Regions from separate parts of the Homo sapiens genome. Here regions 1 and 3 are each linked to region 2. Evidence: promoter capture Hi-C in human tissues and cell types (Jung and others, 2019). All regions are on one chromosome and are shown on one strand. Each heading gives the region's core, a stretch centred on a gene start or on the middle of the fragment in contact. The rest is flanking DNA. Distances are from core to core; before and after follow the strand shown.

The links. Contacts are between HindIII fragments. The study calls those that stand out against the background at their distance.
Region 1: the fragment with the promoter of MAP1S here is called in contact with the fragment with the promoter of PLVAP in region 2 in 3 of the 25 tissues and cell types used here (IMR-90 fibroblasts, lymphoblastoid cells and thymus).
Region 3: the fragment with the promoter of INSL3 here is called in contact with the fragment with the promoter of PLVAP in region 2 in 2 of the 25 tissues and cell types used here (IMR-90 fibroblasts and lymphoblastoid cells).

Annotation. Positions count from the first base shown.
Region 1 is chr19:17,716,617-17,721,178 of GRCh38, forward strand. It overlaps MAP1S (microtubule associated protein 1S), which reads left to right and starts at 2,864. Exons shown (of 7, transcript NM_018174.6): 1 at 2,864-3,004; 2 at 4,320-4,421. The coding sequence starts at 2,887. RefSeq lists enhancers at 894-1,395, 3,446-3,515, 3,906-4,055 and a silencer at 3,046-3,095. The HindIII fragment of the contact is 7,935 bases long and covers 1-3,246 here.
Region 2 is chr19:17,375,166-17,379,527 of GRCh38, forward strand. It overlaps PLVAP (plasmalemma vesicle associated protein), which reads right to left and starts at 2,177. Exons shown (of 6, transcript NM_031310.3): 1 at 1,755-2,177. The coding sequence starts at 2,123. LOC105372298 (a long non-coding RNA gene) reads right to left here. Exons shown (of 3, transcript XR_936362.3): 2 at 4,248-4,321; 3 at 3,625-3,665. RefSeq lists an enhancer at 3,995-4,362. The HindIII fragment of the contact is 34,336 bases long and covers 1-4,362 here.
Region 3 is chr19:17,820,269-17,823,783 of GRCh38, forward strand. It overlaps INSL3 (insulin like 3), which reads right to left and starts at 1,251. Exons shown (of 2, transcript NM_005543.4): 1 at 1,049-1,251. The coding sequence starts at 1,238. The HindIII fragment of the contact is 21,957 bases long and covers 1-3,515 here.

The DNA of each region.
Region 1 (4,562 bases), core at 1,614-4,113, 340 kb after region 2:
GTCCTCAAGCTTGGGAAATGCTTTGGGACAGGAAGACCTCATGGCTCCAAGTACTCAGGACATTATCTCCCAAAAACCTAATGGGGGAGACCTTCATCCCCAAATCAGATCCCCCTAGTGGAGACATTTCTTCAGGCCCTGTAAGACCAACTAGTAATAGAATTAATACCAACAGGCCGGTGCAGTGGCCCATACCTATAATCTCAGCACTTTGGGAGGCCAAGTGGGGCAGATTACTTGAAGTCAGGAGTTCGAGACCATCCTGGCCAACATGGTGAAACCCCATGTCTCTACTAAAAATACAAAAATTAGCCAGGCATGGTGGTGGGTACCGTAATCCCAGCTACTCAGGAGGCTGAGGCAGGAGAATCCCTTGAACCCGGGAGGCGGAGCTTGCAGTGAGCCGAGGTTACACCACTGTGCTCCAACCTAGCCTGCTTGACAGAACAAGACTCTCTCTCTCTCTCTCAGAATGATTCTGGCAAGGGCGACAGAGTGAGAATCCGTCTCAAAAAAAAAAAAAAGAAAGAAAAAAAAGAATTAGTACCAACAATCATAATTCACAGCGTGGGCAGAAGGAAGTGGATAGACTTCCATTCAGAAGCTCCTGGGTTCGAATCCTGGACCCATCCATAAATACACAAGGAAGGAAGGAAGGAAGGAATAGTGGACAAATAGGCCTTTCAGCCCATTCCAAAAGACTTTATCATATCCCTTCTCAGATGCCCAAGCCTTGTGTTGCACAAGGCCAGGGCCCCAGAGAGGCCTCAGGCTTCCAAAAGTTTCCAGCCTTATAGGGGAGATAGTGCCCGACACAGACACTCCCACTACTATTACTGCTCACAGCAATAACAGAAGAAATCACAGGCAGGCGAGACACAGGGAAGGGAGCCAAGGGGGAGGGACAAGGATAGAGGAAGGATGCCAGAACCAAAAAGAGAGAGAGGAAGTGGAGTGCAAGAATGGTAGACGGCACGTGGCCAGTGGCTGTTACACACTGGCCAGGGAGGAAGTTGGGCTGAACAACCTAGATAATAAACGGCAGCGGGAGGCTGATTCGCCTTCCCAGATCTTTCCCATTTCTGTTCTGCTTTTCTTTGCATACTCCCGGAGACAGGGAGCTCACTCCTGAGAAAGGAGGTTCAATGTTTCCTGGGCATGGACCACTGTCCAGAAGTTCCAAGCAAGATGATTTGTCAAGTAGTAGCCCCTATGGGTCAAAGGGCTAAAGGGGGCCAGGCGCGGCGGCTCACGCCTGTAATCCCAGCACTTTGGGAGGCCAAGGCAGGAGGATCACTTGAGGTCAGGAGTTCGAGACCAGCCTGGCCAACATGGTGAAACCCCATCTCTGCCGGGCACGGTGGCTCACGCCTGTAATCCCAGCACTTTGGGAGGCCGAGGCAGGCAGATCACGAGGTCAGGAGATCGAGACCACGGTGAAACCCCGTCTCTACTGAAAATACAAAAAATTAGCTGGGCACAGTGGCGGGCGCCTGTAGTCCCAGCTACTCGGGAGGCTGAGGCAGGAGAATGGCATGAACCTGGGAGGTGGAGCTTGCAGTGAGCCGAGATCGCGCCACTACCCTTCAGCCTGGGCGACAGAGCGAGACTCTGTCTCTAAAAGAAAAGAAAAGAAAAGAAAAGAAAAGAAAAGAAAAGAAAAGAAAAGAAAAGAAACCTCATCTCTACTAAAATACAAAAATTAGCAGGGCATGGTGGCGGACACCTATAATCCCGCTACTTGGGAGGCTGAGGCAAGGGAATCGCTTGAACCCGGGAGGCAGAGGTTGCAGTGAGCTGAGATTGTGCCATTGCACTCCAGCCTGGGCGGCAGAATGAGACTCCATCTCAAGAAAAGGAAAGGAGAGGAGAGGAGAGGGGAGAGGAGGGGAGGGGAGGGGAGGGAGAGGAAGGGAGGGGAGGGGAGGAGAGGAGAGGAGAGGGGAGAGAAGGGGAGGGGAGGGGAGAAGAGGAGAGGAGGGGAGGGGAGGAGAGGAGAAGAGAGGGGAGGAAAGGAAAGAAAAGCCTAAAGAGGATTATCTGGGGAGAGAGAGGTACCCATGTGCGCAACGCAGGCAGTCCCTTGCACAGGCTGGATCTAGAGTAAGACCCACTTGGGTTCAAACCTGCTCTACCACTTACAGGCCTGGTGACTTCATCCCTCCAAATCTCAGTTTCCTCTTCTTTCCTCTGAAAGTGACCACAGTAACTGTGCCTACTCATCTGTGCCTACATACAAGCACAAAACTCATCGCTTTGTGCTTGTATGTAATGAGCTAATGCAATAAAATACCTGGCGCACAGGAGGTGCAGAATAAGTGTTGCCCTGTTCCAGGCAGGCCCAGAGTGCTCCGGTTGTGTCCCAAACACACATGTACTTTCTTACCTCTAAAACTTTGCACCTGCTGTAAACTTCTGCCTCACCAGCTCTTGCCCCACCACCCACAAGGCAAACTCCTACACATCCCTTAAAGCCCTACCTACAAGATAGATTTCTTTTCTCTGTTCAAGCCCTGACCTAGAGAGCTGGGAGCATCCATAGGCACCGGGTTCTGATGCGGCCTACTGTCATGTGATGTGAGTTCCTGGAGGGCAGGAGTTCTGACCTACATGCAGCAGGCACGCAATCAAAGCTTGTTCAATGAAAAAAAAAATGAATGAATGGTCACTTGGGAGAGGCGGCTCCCAAGCGGACACCCAGGAGTCGGCCAACCCCTTTAACGCCCGCATCCCCTGCTCTCCACGACCTCAAAGGGCCTGTAAGTGGTCGACAAAAAGGGGCGGGGATGCGGTGGTTCCGGGCGGGGTCTTCAGCCCTTCCGGTGCGGCCCCTTTAAGAGGCGGGGCCTGCGGGGCGGGCGCCGAGAACGCCGGGGCGGCCCGAAGATGGCGGCGGTGGCTGGATCTGGGGCTGCCGCGGCTCCGAGCTCACTGCTCCTCGTGGTGGGCAGCGAGTTCGGGAGCCCGGGGCTCCTCACCTACGTCCTGGAGGAGCTCGAAAGAGGTCGGGCTGGCCTGGGGGCCCGCGGGAGCCCGGGAGGCGGGCCCGTTCGCGCGTCTGGGCCCGGGGCCGGCGGGGTGGGGCGGCGGCGGCGGCGGCGGCGGGACCCGGGCTCCGGGGCGGGGGTCGCGGGCCTGGGGCTGGGTCCCCTTCACCGTTAGGCGCACGACGCGGGCAAAGGCGGGGTGCCCGTGGGTGCCCGCGGAGAAAGTGGCATCCGGGCCTGGGCTGGGCAGGGCTGCCCCGCCCCAACTCCGGGTGAAGATAGGGGAGGGGACACGGGCCTGGGCTTGGGGACCCTTGCAGTTGGACCACGGCTCCGCTTCCCGCCTGACTGGCCTGCCCGGGGGTAGGGCCTGGGGTCGCTTTGGATCTCCAGGTCTTAGCAGCTTAGATAGAGATCTCCCGGAGGGAGAAGCAGATATGGGGGAGGCTGGGCCTGGAGCCCCGGGGCCCGCTTTCTGTTGCCTCACAAGGAGCTGCTAATTGGGGTGTGGGCGGGTGCGGCCTGCCCTGGGGATTTGGCACCTAGGGAGGTGAGTCATAGGCGCACCTGCCAGGTTCACCTGCAGCCACTTGGCTCAGTGGGACTGGCGGGCGTGATGCGCCCGTGGGTGGAGATGGGTGTTCATCCCCCATCCCTCGGAGCATCTGGACCTGGCGTTTCATTGCATGTAAAATGGGACAGGAACACGCACCTCGGTTCATGTGCTTGAGGAGTGTTTAGTGAGCACCTGCTATGCGCCAGGCCTTTGGGCAGTGGACACAGGGATATGGCCGGGATGATAGACAGGTTCAGCCCTGCCAACACAGGTCTGGTTTGGGGATGGACCCAAAGCGAGTGAGGAGATGGAACAAGCTTCCAGCTCACATGGTGTCAGGAAGGATGAGAAGGCTGCAAGGGACTGAGAGGACAGTCAGTCTTAGCACCCGAAGGTGCTGAGGGGGAAGGGCCCCCTGGCCAGTAGGAACAGGTGGGGGCGGCAGGGGGATGGACTTCCAGGCAGGGGAAACAGCTGTTGCAAGGGCGGTGAGTGGAAACGGGTCTGGCAGGGCATAGGAGCAGCGAGGAGGTGGAGATGGAGGAGGTGGAGGCTTTGTTGCTGATGAATCTTGTGTGTAAAATGATGAGGTGTGCTCTGGGTCCCCTGGCTCAGCTGCAGCGAGACCTGAAGGTGTTGGGTACTTCTGAGTCTCCAAGCTGTGAGTGAAGGGAGGAGGCTGGGGCGCTCCCCACCCACGGGGTGCTAATTATTGAAATATTCTGGGAGCTGGGGGGCCCGGCTGAACTCCCGCCTTGATCCCTCCTTCCCACCAGGCATCCGGTCTTGGGATGTCGATCCTGGCGTCTGCAACCTTGATGAACAGCTCAAGGTCTTTGTGTCCCGACACTCTGCCACCTTCTCCAGCATTGTGAAAGGTGAGGCTGGGGTCCCCCTGACTGCTCCCTACCTCTTGTTATTTGGGGAAGTGCCAGCCGTGTGCCAGGCATGGGGGGTGGGATGCAGCTATAAATAACAACAGTAATAATACAGTTGAGACCTTTCAAATGCAAGCCGTG
Region 2 (4,362 bases), core at 927-3,426:
CAGGTTGGTCTCAAATTCCTGGACTCAGGTGGTCCTCCTGCCTCGGTCTCCCAAAGTGCTGGGATTACAGGTGTGAGCTACTGTAGCCGGTCTTCAGCCACTTATTTGCAGCTTGTGTGTGCTGGACCCCTTTGATTAGTGCTGGCACATTCTGGGAGCTTCATGCATAGTAAGTTATGGGCTCAGGACTGCCAATTAACACACAGGAGGAGAATTAAACTTGGATTCCAAAAAGACAATGAATATTATTTTCAAAATTATATCTCAAATATTGCATGGAATATACTTACAGTTTAAAAAAAATGTTGCTGGCTGGGAATGGTGGCTCATGCCTGTAATCTCAGCACTTTAGGAGGGTGAGCCTAGGAGTTCAAGACCAGCCTCAGCAGCATAGTGAGATTCTGTCTCTAAAAAAAAGTTAGCCAGGGCACCAGGTCAGGGCACGGTGGCTCATGCCTGTAATCCCAGCACTATGGGAGGCCGAGGTGGGTGGCTCACTTGAGGTCAGGAGTTTGAGACCAGCCTGGCAAACATGGTGAAACCCCGTCTCTACTAAAAATACAAAAATTAGCTGGCATGGTTGCACACGCCTGTAATCCCAGCTACTCAGGAGGCTGAGGCAGGAGAATCACTTGAACCTGGGAGGTGGAGGTTGCAGTGAGGCGAGATTGTGCCACTGCACTTCAGCCTGGGTGACAGAGCGAGACTCCGTCTCAAAAAAAAAAAAAAAAATTGCCAGGTGTGGTGGTGCCCACCTGTAATCTCAGCACTTTGGGAGGTCCAGGAGGGAGGATTGTTTGAGCCCAGGAGTTCAAGACCAGCCTGATCAACATAGCGAGACCCCACGTCTACTAAAAATAAAAAATGACCTGGGCATAGTGGCATGTCCATAGTGCCAGCTACTCAAAAGGCTGAGGCAGGAGGATTGCTGGAGCCCAGGATGTCAAGGCTTCAGTGAGCTATGCTCACATCACTGTGCTCCAGCCTGGGTGACAGAGTGAGACCCTGCCTCCAAAAAAAAGAAAAGAAATAAAAAAAATTTAGCTGGACGCAGTGCCCCACACCTGTAATCCCAGCAGTTTGGGAGGCTGGGGTGAGAGGATTGCTTGAGCCCAGGAGTTCGAGACTAGCCTGGGCAACATAGTGAGACCTCATCTCTGCTAAATATAAACATATTAGCTGGGTGTGGTGGTGCACGCCTGTAGTCCCAGCTACTCAGGAGGCTGAGGCAAGAGGATCACTTGAGTCCAGGAGATTGAGGTTGCAGTGAGCTGTGATAGCAATTGCACTCCATCCAGCCCAGGATACACATGGAGACCCTGTCTCTTAAGGAAAAAAAAAAAATCTATCGGCCGGGTGCAGTGGCTCACGCTTGTAATCCCAACAATTTGGGAGGCCAAGGCAGGCGTATCACTTGAGGTCAGGAGTTTGAGACCAGCCTGGCCAACATGGTGAAACCCCATCTCTACTAAAAATACAAAAATGAGCCGGTTATGATGGCACATGCCTGTAATCCCAGCTACTCGGGAGGCTGAGGCAGGAGAATCACTCCAACCCAGGAGGCAGAGGTTGCAGTGAGCCGAGATTGCACCACTGCACTCCAGCCTGGGAGACGGAGCGAGACTCTGTCTCATAAGAAAAGAGAGCATTGGTCCTGTGATCGTCCCCCTCTCTTGGATGAGGAAACTCAGGCTCAGAGAGGTGAGGGGGCTTGCTCAGGGTCCCCAGGGCGAGTGTCCTGCCCACAGCCTTACCCGGTCACCCTGGCACTGGCGGAAGCTGGCATTGATGCGGTCCAGGTCGCGGCGAGCATTCAGCCACATCTGCATGATGGCATCCTTGGCGCGGGTGGTGAAGTTGAGCTCCTTGGTCAAGTTGGACTGGGAGGCCGTGAGCCCTAGGAGCTGACTGTATAGGCCCTCGGCTCGGCGCTCGGTGGCCTGCAGGTTGGACTCTGTGCTCACGTGCACGTTGCCATAGACCATGAAGAGCACGAGCCCCAGGATGATGAGGAATTGGATGAGGGAGACGAAGAGGAAGAAGTAGCGCAGGTAATACCAGCAGCCCCGAGAGCTGCCCCCCGCCCGAGCGTAGGACCCTCCGTGCTCCATGGCCAGACCCATTTGCTCGATCCCGCCGTCCGGTGCACCGTCCCTGCTCACCACCAGGCCTGCTCTGGCCCCCGCCTCGCAGGGGGGAGTGCTTATATTACTCCTCTTAATACTTCCTCTGCCTGGCTCCTTCCTGGCCCGGAGGAAACGGGGGCTGCGGGTTATCACAACACTCCCACTCTGGCTGTGAGAAGGCGGGGGTGGGGCTGGGGGCCCAGAGCCAGGGCACCGGCTGGACCCCTCTGATTAATGCTGGGTGGGGCGCTGGCTGGCTGGTCAGGCATTCCTGGCCTCTTCGAGCCTCGCGTTCGCCTTTACTTGCTGGCGGGTGCTGTTCTCAGTACCTGCTGTGATTAGGTCGCTGAATCATGCCAGGTCTGTTGCTGTCTCCCTTGTGTGGCGGAGGAAACTGAGGCACAGGGAGGAGAAGGGGTTGCCTCGGGGTCTCACGCTGTTAGTTCAGCGAACTTGACTTACCTCAAGACAGGCTGGCTACAGACGTGCACCCACTTCACCAGGGCGGTGCTGATTAAGTGCCACAAAACGTGGGAAATGTGCCAGGCACGGTGGCTCACGCCTATAATCCCAGCACTTTGGGAGGCTGAGGCGGACGGATCACCTGAGGTCAGAAGTTTGAGACCAACCCGGTCACCGTGGTGAAACCCCCCGTCTCTACTAAAAATACAAAACTTAGCCAGGTGTGGTGGTGCTCGCCTGTAATTCCAGCTACCCAGGAGGCTGAGGCAGGAGAATCGCTTGAACCCAGGAGTCGGAGGTTGCGGTGAGCAGAGATCGTGCCATTGCACTCCAGCCTGGGGTATAGAGCAAGACTCTGTTTCAAAAAAAAAAAAAAACAGAAAAAGTGTGAAACTCTTAGCTAGCCTAGGGATGGAGAAGCAGTAGGTGATTAGTAATTGCATAGGAGGGCGTCACGGAGGGCTGAGCCATGGATGGCGGTGGCGCTGGCTCCCCAAGCTCTGTCATTGCCCCCAGTGCCCTGTTCACTTAGATGCTCAGTAAATGCTCCAGGAAACTGCAGCACAAGGAATAATGAACTTGGAGCGGGGAAGAGCTGGCTTTGTCCCGGGAGAGCTCGGGCAAGAGGCCTCGCATGTCTGTGCCTCCCTTTTCCCCTTTGTGAGACGGGGTATACCCAGTGCCTCGTCACTCTGTGGCTGTTGTTATGATTAGGATCATTTCCTGCTGGAGGCACTGCTGGGGGCTCCGTGAGATGGTGAATGACAAGTGGTGGATACGTGGGACTGAGATTCCTCCCCCGACACTCAAAACCCCATGGGCGGCCGGGCATAGTGGCTCACACCTGTAATCTCAGCACTTTGTGAGGCTGAGGCAGGCGGATCACCTGAGGTCAGGAGTGCGAGACCAGCCTGGCCAATATGGTGAAACCCCATCTCCACTAAAAATACAAAAATTAGCCGTGTGTGGTGGCGAGCACCTGTAATCCCAGCTGCTTGGGAAGCTGAGGCAGGAGAACCACTTGAACCCGGGAGGCGGAGGTTGCAGTGAAGCGAGATCGGGCCACTGCACTCCATCCTGGGAGATAAGAGAGAAACTCTGTCTCAAAAACAAAAACAAACAAACCAAAAAAACCACGGGAGTTTTCTGGGGTCGCTGTGGGTCACCCCCCAGTTGGGCCTGGAGGGGATTTGGGGACCCGGAAGCAAAGGATTCTGTGTGTCCTGCCTATCTCCCAGGATCAGGAGCTCCAGGGAAACCCTCCCTGGAGTCCCTTCTTTGTTTGCTCCATGCTGGGTGATGCCAGGGCCCCCCAAGAGGTGTCAGTCCCAACCTCAGCCACAAGCAACTCCCAGTCTTGGGAGACAGACTGGGACAGGTACCCCCCACCCTGTGGAGTCAGGGTGGGCTGGAGGAACAGGAGCAGGGAGCCGGAAAGGAGGCTGGACTCCGGACAGGTGACAATCATGCAATTGCTGTCCTCTGTAGGGCAATGTGAAGGCTGGGGCGTGGGGACCCGTCCCCCCATTAGCCAGGGTAACAGAGTGGGGAGGGGTCGTTGACAGAGCGGAGGGGTACTCCAGGGTGGTGCTCAGTGAGGCGAGTGTAGAGTTGAGAAGAAGGAAGTTCCCAGGGGTGGGCAGGAAACCCATGTCTGACCTTTGACCTTTGCAGCTACCCGGTGGTTCCTGATCCTGATTCCGGACCCTTCCCAGCGGCGTCGTCGGCGGCTGCTAGTGGGGGAAGGAGGGCTGGGGGCTGCCACGGGTGCCCA
Region 3 (3,515 bases), core at 1-2,500, 440 kb after region 2:
GCGAGGCTATGTCTCAAAATAAATAAATAAAAATAAAATAATAAAATAAAGTAACATAATTGTGAAAAGCAATACTTTTCAAAAGCAATACTTTTAAATACTTTTAAAGCTGGACACAGTGACTCACATCGCTAATCCCAACACTTTGGAAGGTCAAGGTGGGAGGATTACTTGAGCTCAGGAGTTTGAGACCAGCCTGGGAAACAGAGTGAGACTCCCTCTCTACGAAAAAGAAAAAAAAATTAGCTGGGTGTGGTGGCAGCACCTGTATCCCAGCCACTCCAGAGGCTGAGGCAGGAGGATGGTTTGAGCCCAGGAGGTTGAGCCTGCAGTGAGCCGAGATCTCACCACTGCACTCCAGCCTGGGCGTCAGAGTGAGACCCTGTCTCAAAAAACAAACAAACAAAGCAAAATTAAGGCAAAAATTCATGAAGATCAAAATATTGAAATTTTAAGACAGGATCTCACCATGTACTTGCAAGAGCCTACCTCTCCTGCCTCACTCTGTTTCTGGCCCCTCAGGGGGACTCATGCTCTGAGGACTTTCTTTTTTTTTTTTTTTTGAGACGGAGTTTCACTCTGTCGCCCAGGCTGGAGTGCAATGGCATGATATCGGCCCACTGCAACCTCTGCCTTCCGGGTTCAAGCGATTCTCCTGCCTTGGCCTCCCAAGTAGCTGGGATTACAGATGTGCATCATTATCCCCGGCTAATTTTTTTAAAAATTATTTTTAGTAGAGATGGGGTTTCACCATTTTGGCCAGGCTGGTCTCGAACTCCTGACCTCTGGGGATCCACCCGCCTCAGCCTCCCAAAGTGCTGGGATTGCAGGCGTGAGCCACCACGCCTGGCTAACGGCTCTGGGGACTTTCACACGCGCGTTCACACACACTCCAGTGCGGACCCACGATCTGTGCACGCAGCCGGCAGGTGAGCCCTGGGCACATGCATGCAAACCTGCCCACCTCCCTGCACGTGTGCATCTGCGCCTACGTGCACCTGCCCCACCTCGGCTTCCCAGAGCGCTGTCCCTGCCCGTCCCCACTCACGGTCGCCTCCGGTCGCAGGCCTCCTGGCTTCGGTGGACCAGCGGGGGCCCCCGCACACGCGCACTAGCGCGCGTACGAAGTGGTGGCCGCACAACTTCTCACGCATCTCTGGGGTGGGCGCGGGGCCCAACGCGAACACCAGGGCAGGGCCCAGCAGCACCAGCGCCCAGGCGGGCAGACGGGGGTCCATGGTGGTGGGTGGCGCCGGGGCCAAGCGGGGACCCCCTTTATAGGCGCCTGGGCCGTCCCAGCTGGGGGCCTTGGAGAAGGGACAGAACATTCTTCAGGACCGCCCAGGAAAAAGGTCAAGGGTGGGGTTAGTGCCAGAGCCTTTCTCCCAGGGCCAGGGCCTTGGATGTACTTCTCCCAGAGGGAGCACTGGGCAACGAGTCTTTCTTTTTTATTTTTTTCTTCTTTTTTTTTGAGATGGAGTCTCACTCTGTCACCCAGGTTGGAGTGCAGTGACTTGATCTCGGCTCACTGCAACTTCTGACACCCGGGTTCAAGCGATTCTCCTGCCTCAGCCTCCTGAGTAGCTGGGATTACAGGTGCGCACCACTATGCCTGGCTAATTTTTTTTTTTTTATTTTTTATTTTTAGTAGAGACTGGGGTTCGCCATGTTGGCCAGGCTGGTCTCCAACTCCTGACCTCAAGCGATCCATCTGCCTCGGCCTCCCAAAATGCTGGGATTACAGGCATGAGCTGTGCCTGGACTATTATTATTTTTATTATTATTATTGAGACAAAGTCTTGCTCTGTCTTCCAGGCTGGAGTGCAGTGATGCGATCTCGGCTCACTGCAACCTCCACCTCCTGGGTTCAAGTGATTCTCCCACCTCAGCCTCCCAAGTAGCTGGGATTACAGGTGTAAGCCACCACGCCCAGCCACCTATTTTTATTTTTTATTTTTGAGATGAGTTCTTGCTCTGTTACCCTGGCTGGAGTGCAGTGGCACGATATGGGCTCACTGCCACCTCCCTATCCCTGACTCAAGCAATTCTCCCACCTCAGCCTCCTGAGTAGCTGGGACTACAGGCCCACGCCACCACACCCGGCTAATTTTTTGTATTTTTTTTGTAGAGATGGGGTTTTGCCATGTTGCCCAGGCTGGTCTCAAACTCCTGGACTCAAGTCATCTTCCCGCCTCAGCCTCCCAAAGTCCTGGGATCACAGGCGAGAGCGACCACACCAGGGTATTTATTCATTTTTGACATAGGATCTCTCTGGGTTGGCCTGTAATGGCAGGATCATAGCTCACTGTAACCTCATTCCCCTGGGCTCAAGCGATCCTTCAGCCTCTGCCTCCTGAGTAGCTGGGACTACAGGCCTGCAATACAATGCCCAGCTAATTTTTAATTTTTTAATTTTTATTTTTATCTTTTTAGACAGAGTCTTACTCTGTCACCCAGGCTGGAGTACAGTGGTGCGATCTCGACTCACTGCAACCTTTGCTTCCTGGGTTCAAGCGATTCTCCTGCCTCAGCCTCCTGAGTAGCTGGGATTACAGGTGCCCACCACCAAGCCTGGCTAATTTTTGTATTTTTTAGCAGAGACGGGGTTTCACCATGTTGGCCAGGCTGATCTCAAACTCCTGACCTCAAGTGATCCACCCGCCTCGGCCTCCCAAAGTGCTGGGATTACAGGCGTGCACCAACGCGCCCGGCCATTTTTAATTTTTTAATTGTAGAGGCAGGGGTCTTGCTATGTTGCCCAGGCTCATCTAGAACTCAAGTGGTTCTCCCTACTCGGCCTTCCAAAATGCTGGGATTACAGGTGTGAGGCACCACACACGGCCAAGTCTTCGCTATTGTCTTAACCAGTTTAAAGAGATGAAATAGATCAACTGAAAAGTAATAATCCTGCCTTTTCTGGGGGGCAGGGGGGAAGACAGCGGGCATCTTCCAAGACCAGAAATGTTCAGAATTTTGTTGTTTCTATTACTGTACAAATGAGAAAACTGAGGCACACAGGCCAGGTGCAGTGGCTCATGCCTGTAATGCAAGCACTTTGGGAAGATGGGGCAGGTGGATCACTTGAGGTCAAGAGTTCGAGACCAGCCTGCCCAATATGGTGAAACTCTGTCTCTACTAAAAATACAAAAATTAGCCAGATGTGGTGGTGCATGCCTATAATCCCAGCTACTCGGGAGGCTGAGGCAGGAGAATCACTTGAACCCAGGAGGTGGAGATTGCAGTGAGCCGAGATGGTGCCGCTGCACACCAGCCTGGGGACAGAGACTCCGTCCCCTCACCAGACAAAAAGAAAGAAAAGAAAAGAAAAAAAGAAAACTGAGGCACAGAGAAAGGACCCCAAACTTGCCCAAGGTCACAGGAGGCTGAGCAGAGCCCAGGTCTTCTCAAGGCGCCTGACACGCAGGGCTGGGGGTGTCCCATCCGAAGCTCTGTCTCCCCAACACGGTTGTCCCCTCTGGGTGAGCAGGGGCTGGTGGACCCAGAATAGAGCAGGA